3 separate regions of the Homo sapiens genome follow, and all the other regions are linked to region 3. The links are contacts of gene promoters, found by promoter capture Hi-C in blood cells and fetal thymus (Javierre and others, 2016). All regions are on one chromosome and are shown on one strand. The core of a region is centred on a gene start or on the middle of the fragment in contact, and the rest is flanking DNA. Distances in the headings are between cores, read along the strand shown. Region 1 overlaps AGMAT (agmatinase (putative)). Region 2 holds the start of ARHGEF19 (Rho guanine nucleotide exchange factor 19). Region 3 holds the start of SPEN (spen family transcriptional repressor).

Region 1 (2,925 bases), core at 250-2,749, 270 kb before region 3:
CAGAGAACAGAAAAGGCCTAGGTGCTCTGCTCTTAAAATCCTACCTTGGCAGCCAGGCGCGGTGGCTGACACCCGTAATCCCAGCACTTTGGGAAGCCGAGGTGAGTGGATCACGAGATCAGGAGTTCAAGACCAGCCTGACCAACATGGTGAAACCCCATCTCTACTAAAAATACAAAAATTAGCCGGGCGTAGTGGCATGTGCCTGTAATCTCAGCTACTCAGGAGGCTGAGGCAGGAGAATCGCTTGAACCTGGGAGGCGGAGGTTGCAGTGAGCCGAGATCGCACCACTGCACTCCAGCCTGGGCGACAGAGTGAGACTCCGTCTCAAACAAACAAACAAAAATCCTATCCTGATTCCTAAAGATTCGCTTCAAGTCCCAGGAAAATGGGTGTTAAGTGTCTCCACCCCCAGGATCTTCACTGGTGGAATCTCCTTACCTGACTAGGAGTGAGACCAGCAATTTCAGGTGTCCCTGTCCCTGGCGCATAGGCAGGATCCAGAGCGTCAATATCAAAGCTGATATAAATGGGTTTGCCTCCCATCTGCTGCCTGACTTCCCCCATCAGAGGAACCAGCGACTTCATCCAGCAGTCTTCAGCCAGGACTACCCGGAAGCCCTGCAGAGACAGGGACTGAGGTTTCTGTCTGGCAGCATTTACAGGGCATTTCCTGTTTGCCAGCCCCATGCTCAGCTCTGTGTGCACATGACACTTGACCCTCCATCTCCATGAAGAGGGAACTATCCTATTTTACAGGTGAGGAAGGGAGGGACAATGAGTGGTAAGGAAGCAGGGTCAAAGCTGACTGATGGAGTTGGAATCAGAGAGAAGCTTTGCTAAAGCAAGAGTGGGAAACAGCAGCTCACGCTAGCACCTTTTGAATTGCTCTGTCCAGAAGACTGGCCTTGGCACGCTCTAAAAGCAAGGGATTTGGGTCTGTTCCATTGGGGTCTTGTCATACACGTCTATCTGAGAGCCATTCTGCCTAGAGGGTACGAGGACCAGAACTAAGAAGGTGGCAACTCATCTTGGGTCCGGACTTCCTCCCCTCTTTTTTTTTTCTTTTGAGATGGAGTCTCACTTTGTCACCTAGGCTAGAGTGCAGTGGCGCGATCTCAGCTCACTGCAACCTCCACCTCCCACGTTCAAGCAATTCTCCTGCCTCAGTCTCCCGAGTAGCTGGGATTACAGGTGCGCACCGCCACACCTGGCTAATTTTTGTATTTTTAGGAGAGACGGGGTTTCACCATGTTGGCCAGGCTGGTCTCGAACTCCTGACCTCAGGTGATCCACCCACCTTAGCCTCCCAAAGTGCTGGGATTACAGGTGTGAGCCACTGTGCCCGGCCTCCTCCCCTCTTCTAAGCCAGCACCGTCCGAGGGGTTGGTCGATTTCTGCTTGTCTCCCCCGCCCAGCGATAGACTTCCCATGGCCCATAAACCAACTTCCTCACTCCTATGCTCCTTATGCCCCTGATGATGCAAACTCAGCCTTGTATCCCTGCTTCAGACTTGATTAGTAAAGCCCCCGCTCAATCCCTGGCTGCCACTGGTGAGGCAACGGAGAGGAAGACATTTTGAGGGGCAAGGGTGGGGGGCATTCGGTCTGTCACCTGGCTCCGGTTGTATCTGTAGGGATCCAAGGTCGTGGAAGAGCCCCGGATGCCAATCTGCACCACACGCTTACAGTCCAGGAGACCCTCATCCACACACCGGCGGAAGGGCGCCCCGTGGTAGAGCTTCTCTCCTAGGGCCTTGTCGGTCGTGTCCGTGTGCGCATCCACGTGCAGCAGCCCCACTGGGCCATGCCTGATGACAACAGGGCAGCTCAGAGGCCAACCCTCCCTGTGGGGCCCTAGCACAGCCACCCTTCGGGCCACCAAAACTTGGTGACAATTCACAGCCAAAAAGGGGAGACCTGGCATCCGTTTTCTGCCTTGCAACTGGTTCCTGTCTTCTTGAGATCACTTTGCATCTCAGAGGAACAATAAACTCACAGAAGTCAGGCAGGAAATAGACATGTTTTGGCTGCCACCCACACCTATCACCCAGAATTTGCTTCACTTAGAGACAGGATGAGAATCAAGGGTGGTGGCACAGGGGAGCTTGGCTGAAGGCTTAACTAAACCAAGACACACCCTTTCTCCAACCGAGGAAGAGGAAGCTTTAATCCAGCTCTCTCCATAACCTCCATCAACCCCTGCCAGCCACCCAAAATAAACATCTGATCCAAATCCGTGAGGAATAAATGCAGCTTTGAGCAAAGACCTGCACCCTCCCACCTCCAACCAGAATGCCACCCACATGTGCTTCCACAGACACATTCTGGAGCTGCCACCCTCCACCCGGGTCCTTCTGTCTCTTTCTCAAACTAAATTAGCCAAAGTCGGCCAATCCTGGGTAGACTTCCACTACTGGCAAATCAGTCTTTTGATTGAGAAAGGTGCCCTTTCAGGAGGAAACAAGGGCCTCTCAGCAAGGTCCACCATTGTGCCTGTCAGTGTTTGTTTTTGGCCATTGAAGCAAAACAGAAACTGAAGTTAACTGAGGTTGTGTATTTCACTAGAGGCTCATCTTCCAAAAACAGAAGCAAGTTGAAAATGCTGAGCACACATACCAGGAGAGATCTAGGGCAAGGGAGGGTGGCCAGAACTGTTAATAATAAATTGTCTTGGCTTCTAGCTGCTGACTGACAGAGACACCTGGAGCTCAACCTTAATTTTGATCCCCAGAAGCAGCTCATAACCTGAGCCAGCAGCAGTCACCTAATGCCACCAAACAGCAAATAACTCATTCCCTAGCTTCTGGCTTTTGAAATCTTGCTGGGCCCAAGCCATTTGAGACTTACTTTTTTGCCATCGCTTGCAATATGGGATATGTGATTGTGTGATCTCCACCTGCAAAGAGGAAGAAGAAAACATC
Region 2 (2,840 bases), core at 196-2,695, 360 kb after region 3:
GAAGATGAAGGAGTGAGGCTGAGACACACATTATATCGCAGGAGTGTGCACAAGGAGGCCCCTGCCCACAGACGGGTCTCTTTCTCTGCAGGAATCAGAAGTCCTCGACACAGAAGTCCCACTTGCTTCTGGGGGCACACATGTGCAGGCATGTACACATGCCCCCTGCCCCTTTGTATGCTGGGAGATTCTAGCACTTGGGTTCTGGAAGCTCCTGGAGGGCAGGGAGGGACCCTCTCTCCCATGGCTCACAGGGATAAGTAGGCAAAACATTGAGGCTTTGCAGCAGGAGCACCCCCAGTTAAGGCTGCAGAGGAGAAGGCTAGGTGAATGTGGGGAGAGGGGACATAGAAGGCTTCCCGGGGAGATGAAGCTGGAGGCAGGTCCCTAGCAGGGAAGAAGTCAGGAGTGTGTCAGCCTCCACCTATGCTCAAGCCAAGGGGTAATAAGAATGACCCATCTAGCTGGGATGCCAGCCCTGTGGCCCTCCAGGGGTTTGGCCCACCCAACCTCAATGCTGGGGAGCTAAGAGGGACAAGCTGTGTTCATATTGTGTGTAGCTCATCTCTGTTAGAAAAAAACAAACAAAAACCTCAGAAAGAGAACTGGCCCCAGACAGCAGGGACATTACCTTCCCAAGGCACGATCACAGGATAGAGACTCTTGTGTCTACTAGGCAAGGGCCACTCTGGAGCCCAAAAAGAATAACCTCCGCCCAAGCTTTGAGGCCCAGTGTTGACACTGACCAGCTGTGTGGCCTTAGGCAATTCACAGCCCATCCCTTGGCCTCAGTATTCCCATCTGTAAAGTGGCTCCTAAGGGACCGCACCACCGCCCAATGCCCTCTCTAAGAAACATGTCTCATCATAAATGTCTCTGGGCCAAGAAGGATGGGCAGGGGCCGAGGAAAGTACCCTTGGTGGGTGCTGCTAATTACAGAAGACGATGGGCCCACTTAGCAAGGCTGCCAGAGAGTCCCTGGACACTACCATGATCAGAAAAAGTGTTTCTGGCCTCCTGTACCTAGCTTTTCCCTGCCCCCTCCCGGGTGCCCCTTGCCTTGCTGCCCAGGAGAGCTGGTACCCTGCCAGAGCCTCTCTGCCCTTTAAGGAATAAAGCCAGGTGGGAAGTCATGGCTGGAAAGTGGATCCAGGCCAAGTGGTTCACAGAGCCCCAGAAGGCCATAGTGGGTCAGAGCCAGGATCAGAGACCAGGCGGGCAGCACAAAGGGCTCACTCAGCGGGGAAAACTGGCGGGAAGAGAATGGGACTGCTGGCACCCAGGTGGGGCCCTACCTCAGCCAGGGAGCTCCGTCCAGCTGCCAGCACGGTCCAGGGCTCCGGGACACCCTGGGGGCTCTGGGGTTGCAGCCAAGTCCTCAGGGGGCGATGTCAGCATGTCAGCATGGCCCCAGAGCCGAGCAAGGCAAGCTCCTGGGTATTGTGTGGGGCAGGGAGGGGGAGGTGAAGGAGGAGGGAACCTTGCAGAGAGAGGCAGGCGGCTGTCTCAACGTGCCTGCTCCCCGCCCCCCTTCCCCAGAACCGGTTTGGCTAGTCTGGGGTACAAGAGGGGGGCTGGAACAATGGGAGTCCTATGCCCAAGTGAGGCTCTGAAGGACCCTACACCCAGGTCCTAAAGACGGGGGAGGCAGTGCTTCTGCTCCTAGGAGACAGGTCACCACTCTTCTGGAGCTTCCCAAACATGAGCATGCTCAGGGGACTTCTTGGAGCTGGGGAGCATCCTGGGAGCTTCACAGAGAGCCTCCCAAGCCCTGCACTCCTTAGGGACCCTGAGAACCCTGATGACCCTCTCTGATCCTATTACTACATCTATCAAATTGGAACACTCATCCCTATGATTGGGAGACAGAAATCAGTCCTGAAAGTTGATGATGTGACATGTGGCATCATCCTGGACAGCCTCTCCTCATCTAGTACAGCCACTGCTTGCAAATCCCCATCCTTTCCCACGGCCTGGAATGACCTGCCCCACCATCTCCAGTGGCCGCCTCCACCATGAAGCCTTCCCAGACTATACCAATTGAGCCCTCAATAAACCAAGCCAAATAGCCAAGTCAAACTGCCTCCAATAAGAAGGGCATGCTCTATGCCCGGCATGCAATCTTCCCAACCCTGTGGAATGGGAAGCTGCATTTTCCCCTAATTCTACCTGCCATCTGTTTGAGCTACCAGCAATTGCCAGGCACCTAATATTAATATGCAGATGTGTACACAGACTAATAGTCATGAAGCTAACTTATTGTTCACCTACTAGGTGCCAGGCACTGTCCTGAGCACTTCACATGTATTTACTCATTTAATCTCCACCATGACCCTGTCAGGTAGATACTGCTACCACTTATCAGGTGAGTACAGTTGTCCCTTGGTACCCAGAATCTGTGGGGAATTGGTTCTAGAACCCTCCCATACGAAAATCCATGGCTGCTCCAGTCCCTTATACAAAATGTCATAGTGTTTGCTATAACCTTTGTACATCCTCCAGTAAATTTTATTTTATTTTATTTTATTTATTTATTTATTTATTTATTTATTTATTTATTTATTTATTTTTAAGATGGAGTCTTGCTCTGTCACCCAGGCTGGAGCAAGTGGTGGGATCTCAGCTCACCGCAACCTTTGCCTCCCAGGTTCAAGCAATTCTTCTGCCTCAGCCTCCCCAGTAGCTGGGATTACAGGCGCATGCCACCACACCCTACTAATTTTTTTTGTTTCTAGTCAAGACAGGGTTTCACCATGTTGGCCAGGCTGGTTTTTGAACTCCTGACCTTAAGTGATCCACCCGCCTCAACCTCCCGAAGTGCTGGGATTATAGACGTGAGC
Region 3 (3,263 bases), core at 307-2,806:
AAACTAGCCTGGTGTGGTGGTGCGCGCCTGTAATTCCAGCTACTCGGAAGGCTGACGCAGGAGAATCGCTTGAACCTGGGAGGCGGAGGTTGCAGTGAGCTGAGACAGCGCCATTGTGCCCCAGCTTGGCTAACAAGAGTGAAACTTGGTCTCAGGAAAAAAAAAAAAAAAGAGGCTGGGCGTGGTGGCTCAAGCCTGTAATCCCAGCACTTTGGGAGGCTTGAGGCGGGTGGATTACCTGAGGTTGTGAGTTCGAGGCCAGCTTGACCAACACAGAGAAACTGTCTCTACTAAAAATACAAAAATTAGCCGGGCATGGTGGCGCATGCCTGTAATCCCAGCTACTCAGGAGGCTGAAGCAGGAGAATCGCTTGAACCCAGGAGACAGAGGTTGCAGTAAGCCGAGAACACACCATTGCACTCCAGCCTGGGCAACAAAAGCAAAACTCCGTCTCAAAGGAAAAAAAAAAAAAAAGAAAGTTCAACTGTAGGTTTCAAAAGCTCTTAGGCCTGGAAAGGCCAGAGGTCTAATTCCTTTCTCTGTTTAAATATTAAATTATGGTCTGAGGGGAACAATATTGGATTCCTGTCTCATTTCCGTTTTATTCCTTCTATACCACAGCGATCAGCAAGGGTATCTTGCAAACGGTTTCGCAAGATTCTATATAAAAAAGTTGCTTAGGCCAGGTGCAGTGACTCCCGCCTGTACTCCCAGTACTTTAGGAGGCCGAGGCGGGCGGATCACCTGAGGTCAGGAGTTCAAGACCAGCCTGGCCTACATGGTGAAACCCTGTCTCTAATAAAAATACAAAAATTAGCCAGGTGTGGTTGCGGGTGCTTGTAATCCCAGCTACTTGGGAGGCTGAGGCAGGAGAATCGCTTGAGTCTGGGAGGCGGAGATTGCAGTGAGCCGAGACCGTGCCACTGCACTCCAGCAGCCTGGGCAACAGAGCGAGACCCCGTATTAAAAAAAAAAAAGTTGCTTCATGTTACAAGCCAGTGACTCTTGGATGGGATGCGTTTCTGAAGCCGTCGCTGTTCAGCAGAGCGGTGAGAAGGGCAACCTTTTTCTGATCGCTTTCCCAAGCAGGCAGGAATCTAAGTGTCCGGAAACGCCAGGAGCTGGCCGCCAGGTGAGCGGAGGACGAAGGGGTCCTGACTTCTAGGGGACAGGCCTTGGCAGCCGCTTTGACCCGTAGCCCTGTGGAAACCAATTGCATTTCTCTTCATATCTTCCACCAGGCCGGGGCCTGGGGTTGCCGCTGGAGGGGCTAAAGACCGCTCCTGCTTCCTCAGCCGCCCCTTGCCCGGCGCGGGAACCCGACCGAGAGCCCGCCAAGCAGCGGGACTCCACTAGCAGCTGCGCGCCTGCGCACCGGGGCCGAGCGCGCGAGCGTTCCTTCCCCGCCTGTAGTCCCTCACTTCGTCGCCCGGTCCGCGCGCCTGCGCGCCGGCTGGGAGGAACTCAGCTTCTCCGCCTTGGCAGGCGGGAGGACGCGCGCGCGCCCGCGGCGAGGGGGAGGCAGTGCGGCGGCGGGAGTCGGGCCGCGCGCGCCAGTGGGAAGCGTCCGGCTGCCACAGCGCCAGCTCCGTCGTAGTCGCTGCCGCCCGTGTCCCGCTCGCCCCTCCTCCCGCTCCCCCGCCCGCCCCTGCCCGGGCGCATGCGCTGCCGGAGCGCGAGGGTCGGCTTCGGGTGTGTGGTGGCGGCAGAGCTGAGCTGCGAGGCCCGAGAGTCAGAACCTGGGGGAGAGGGATGGTCTCTGCACGGGGGGGAGCCGGAGGAGCCGCCGCCGCTGCCGACGCCACCGCCGCAGCCGCCGCCGCCGCCGCCCCGGCACCCGCCTCCCGGCGCTGACGGTCTCGTACGAAGCCGGCGAGGGGGAGCCAGCAGCGGCGGTCGCCGGCACGCCGCCCAGCATGGTCCGGGAAACCAGGCATCTCTGGGTGGGCAACTTACCCGAGAACGTGCGGGAAGAGAAGATCATCGAGCATTTCAAACGGTGAGTGACACGAGGCCCGCGGCCGCGCTCGCTCCTCGGGCGCCGCTTCCCGCCCCGGCCCGTTGCCGGCCCCTCCCGGAGCGCGGAGCTGGTGAGGAGGACTCCGGCCCGGACCCACGGGCGCTGTGGGACCTCGTCAGCCGCTCGGCCCGCGTCGCGGCGTTGGGCCTCGGGTGTCGGCGGTGCGGGCGGCCAAGCCGCGCCGCCTTCGAAGAGCCCGCGGGGCCCCGGCGGCCGCGTCCGTGACGAGGGAGGTGACCGAGGCTCGGCCTCCACGCAGCCGGCGCCCCGGGGCTGCCCTCGCGTCAGCCCGGGAGTCGGTGGGAGATGCGCTGGGCGGCGGGGTCGCGTCCTTGCGCGCAGTGCCCGGCCCGGAGCAGCCGGGACCCGAGCCCGCCCGACAGCCGGGTCCGGCGCCGCCACTCCAAGCTGCTCTGCGGGCGCTCGGCAATGTCTGACTTCGGGAGGGTTCCGTGCGAAGGGAAAGGCGGTGCGAAAACAGAAGTCGCAGTAGGTACTGTGGTCGCGTCGCGGACCCGGAGAGACCATCTAGGACCTCTCCGGAGGATTTGCAGCCTTGAAACTCACTGGGAATGGCAAACGTTTCTCGTTTTTGCGGGGCTGGGTGGAGAGTGGTGTGAAATAAGTTGGTGCGCCCGTTTGGGCTTCCTCGTCCCCGGCGGAGGAGACCGCGTCTGACAGGAGGTTGCTAGCCCCGGCGCCCGTAGCCTCGGGTCGCACTCCCAGGCCGCCCTAAGACCCTGGTGCCCCCCACCCCTGAATTCCCGAATCAAACGGTAAAACATTCCAAACCTTTTACGATGAGAAGATGTAGCTTAAAAAAAAAACCTCCCCTGAATATTTTTGTGAATTATAAGAATAAATGTTGTCGTTGATACATCTTATTGAGTAGCGTGTAGTGCGTTTTCTTTGTGAAATGCCTGTGTACCGTAACAGATAGGCCTCCGCATAAAACACTTATTAAAATGACGATTGGCTTGGACTTGGTGCAGATTCAGAGGGACCATAGCAAATCTGTGGTTGTCCTCGAAAATGACAGTTTATTCCGATATTTAAGACCCTGGAAGGTTTTAAGTTTGGCTTTTAATTTCCCTTACTATGTAGTGAGTGAAGGAAATTATGGAGCGTCCTCATTAATGAGTCACCATGGGAAAAATAGATTGCGTCGCTCGCTTTGAGCCGCTTGGATAAGGAAATGGAAGCAGCGGCGGCGGAGCTCCTGTCTTTTAAATGGAGGATCAT

Evidence for each region. The method cuts DNA at HindIII sites, captures the fragments that hold promoters and counts their contacts. A CHiCAGO score of 5 or more calls a contact.
Region 1: a contact is called between a fragment that was not itself captured here and the fragment with the promoter of SPEN in region 3, in 1 of 17 cell types (non-activated CD4 T cells). The highest score is 5.8, in non-activated CD4 T cells.
Region 2: a contact is called between the fragment with the promoter of ARHGEF19 here and the fragment with the promoter of SPEN in region 3, in 1 of 17 cell types (activated CD4 T cells). The highest score is 5.2, in activated CD4 T cells.

Annotation. Positions count from the first base shown.
Region 1 is chr1:15,577,243-15,580,167 of GRCh38, forward strand. It overlaps AGMAT (agmatinase (putative)), which reads right to left. Exons shown (of 7, transcript NM_024758.5): 3 at 2,852-2,900; 4 at 1,617-1,812; 5 at 443-622. Among named protein-coding and RNA genes, the nearest start is that of AGMAT, 6.3 kb to the right of the region's middle. The HindIII fragment of the contact is 1,332 bases long and covers 834-2,165 here.
Region 2 is chr1:16,211,207-16,214,046 of GRCh38, forward strand. ARHGEF19 (Rho guanine nucleotide exchange factor 19) reads right to left here and starts at 1,446. Exons shown (of 16, transcript NM_153213.5): 1 at 1,296-1,446. RefSeq lists an enhancer at 1,250-1,948. The HindIII fragment of the contact is 4,473 bases long and covers 719-2,840 here.
Region 3 is chr1:15,846,151-15,849,413 of GRCh38, forward strand. It overlaps SPEN (spen family transcriptional repressor), which reads left to right and starts at 1,557. Exons shown (of 15, transcript NM_015001.3): 1 at 1,557-2,000. The coding sequence starts at 1,918. It overlaps SPEN-AS1 (SPEN antisense RNA 1), which reads right to left and starts at 1,997. Exons shown (of 2, transcript NR_024279.1): 1 at 1,958-1,997. RefSeq lists enhancers at 687-1,199, 1,200-1,711, 3,135-3,263 and silencers at 1,294-1,863, 2,044-2,463. The HindIII fragment of the contact is 15,488 bases long and covers 1-3,263 here.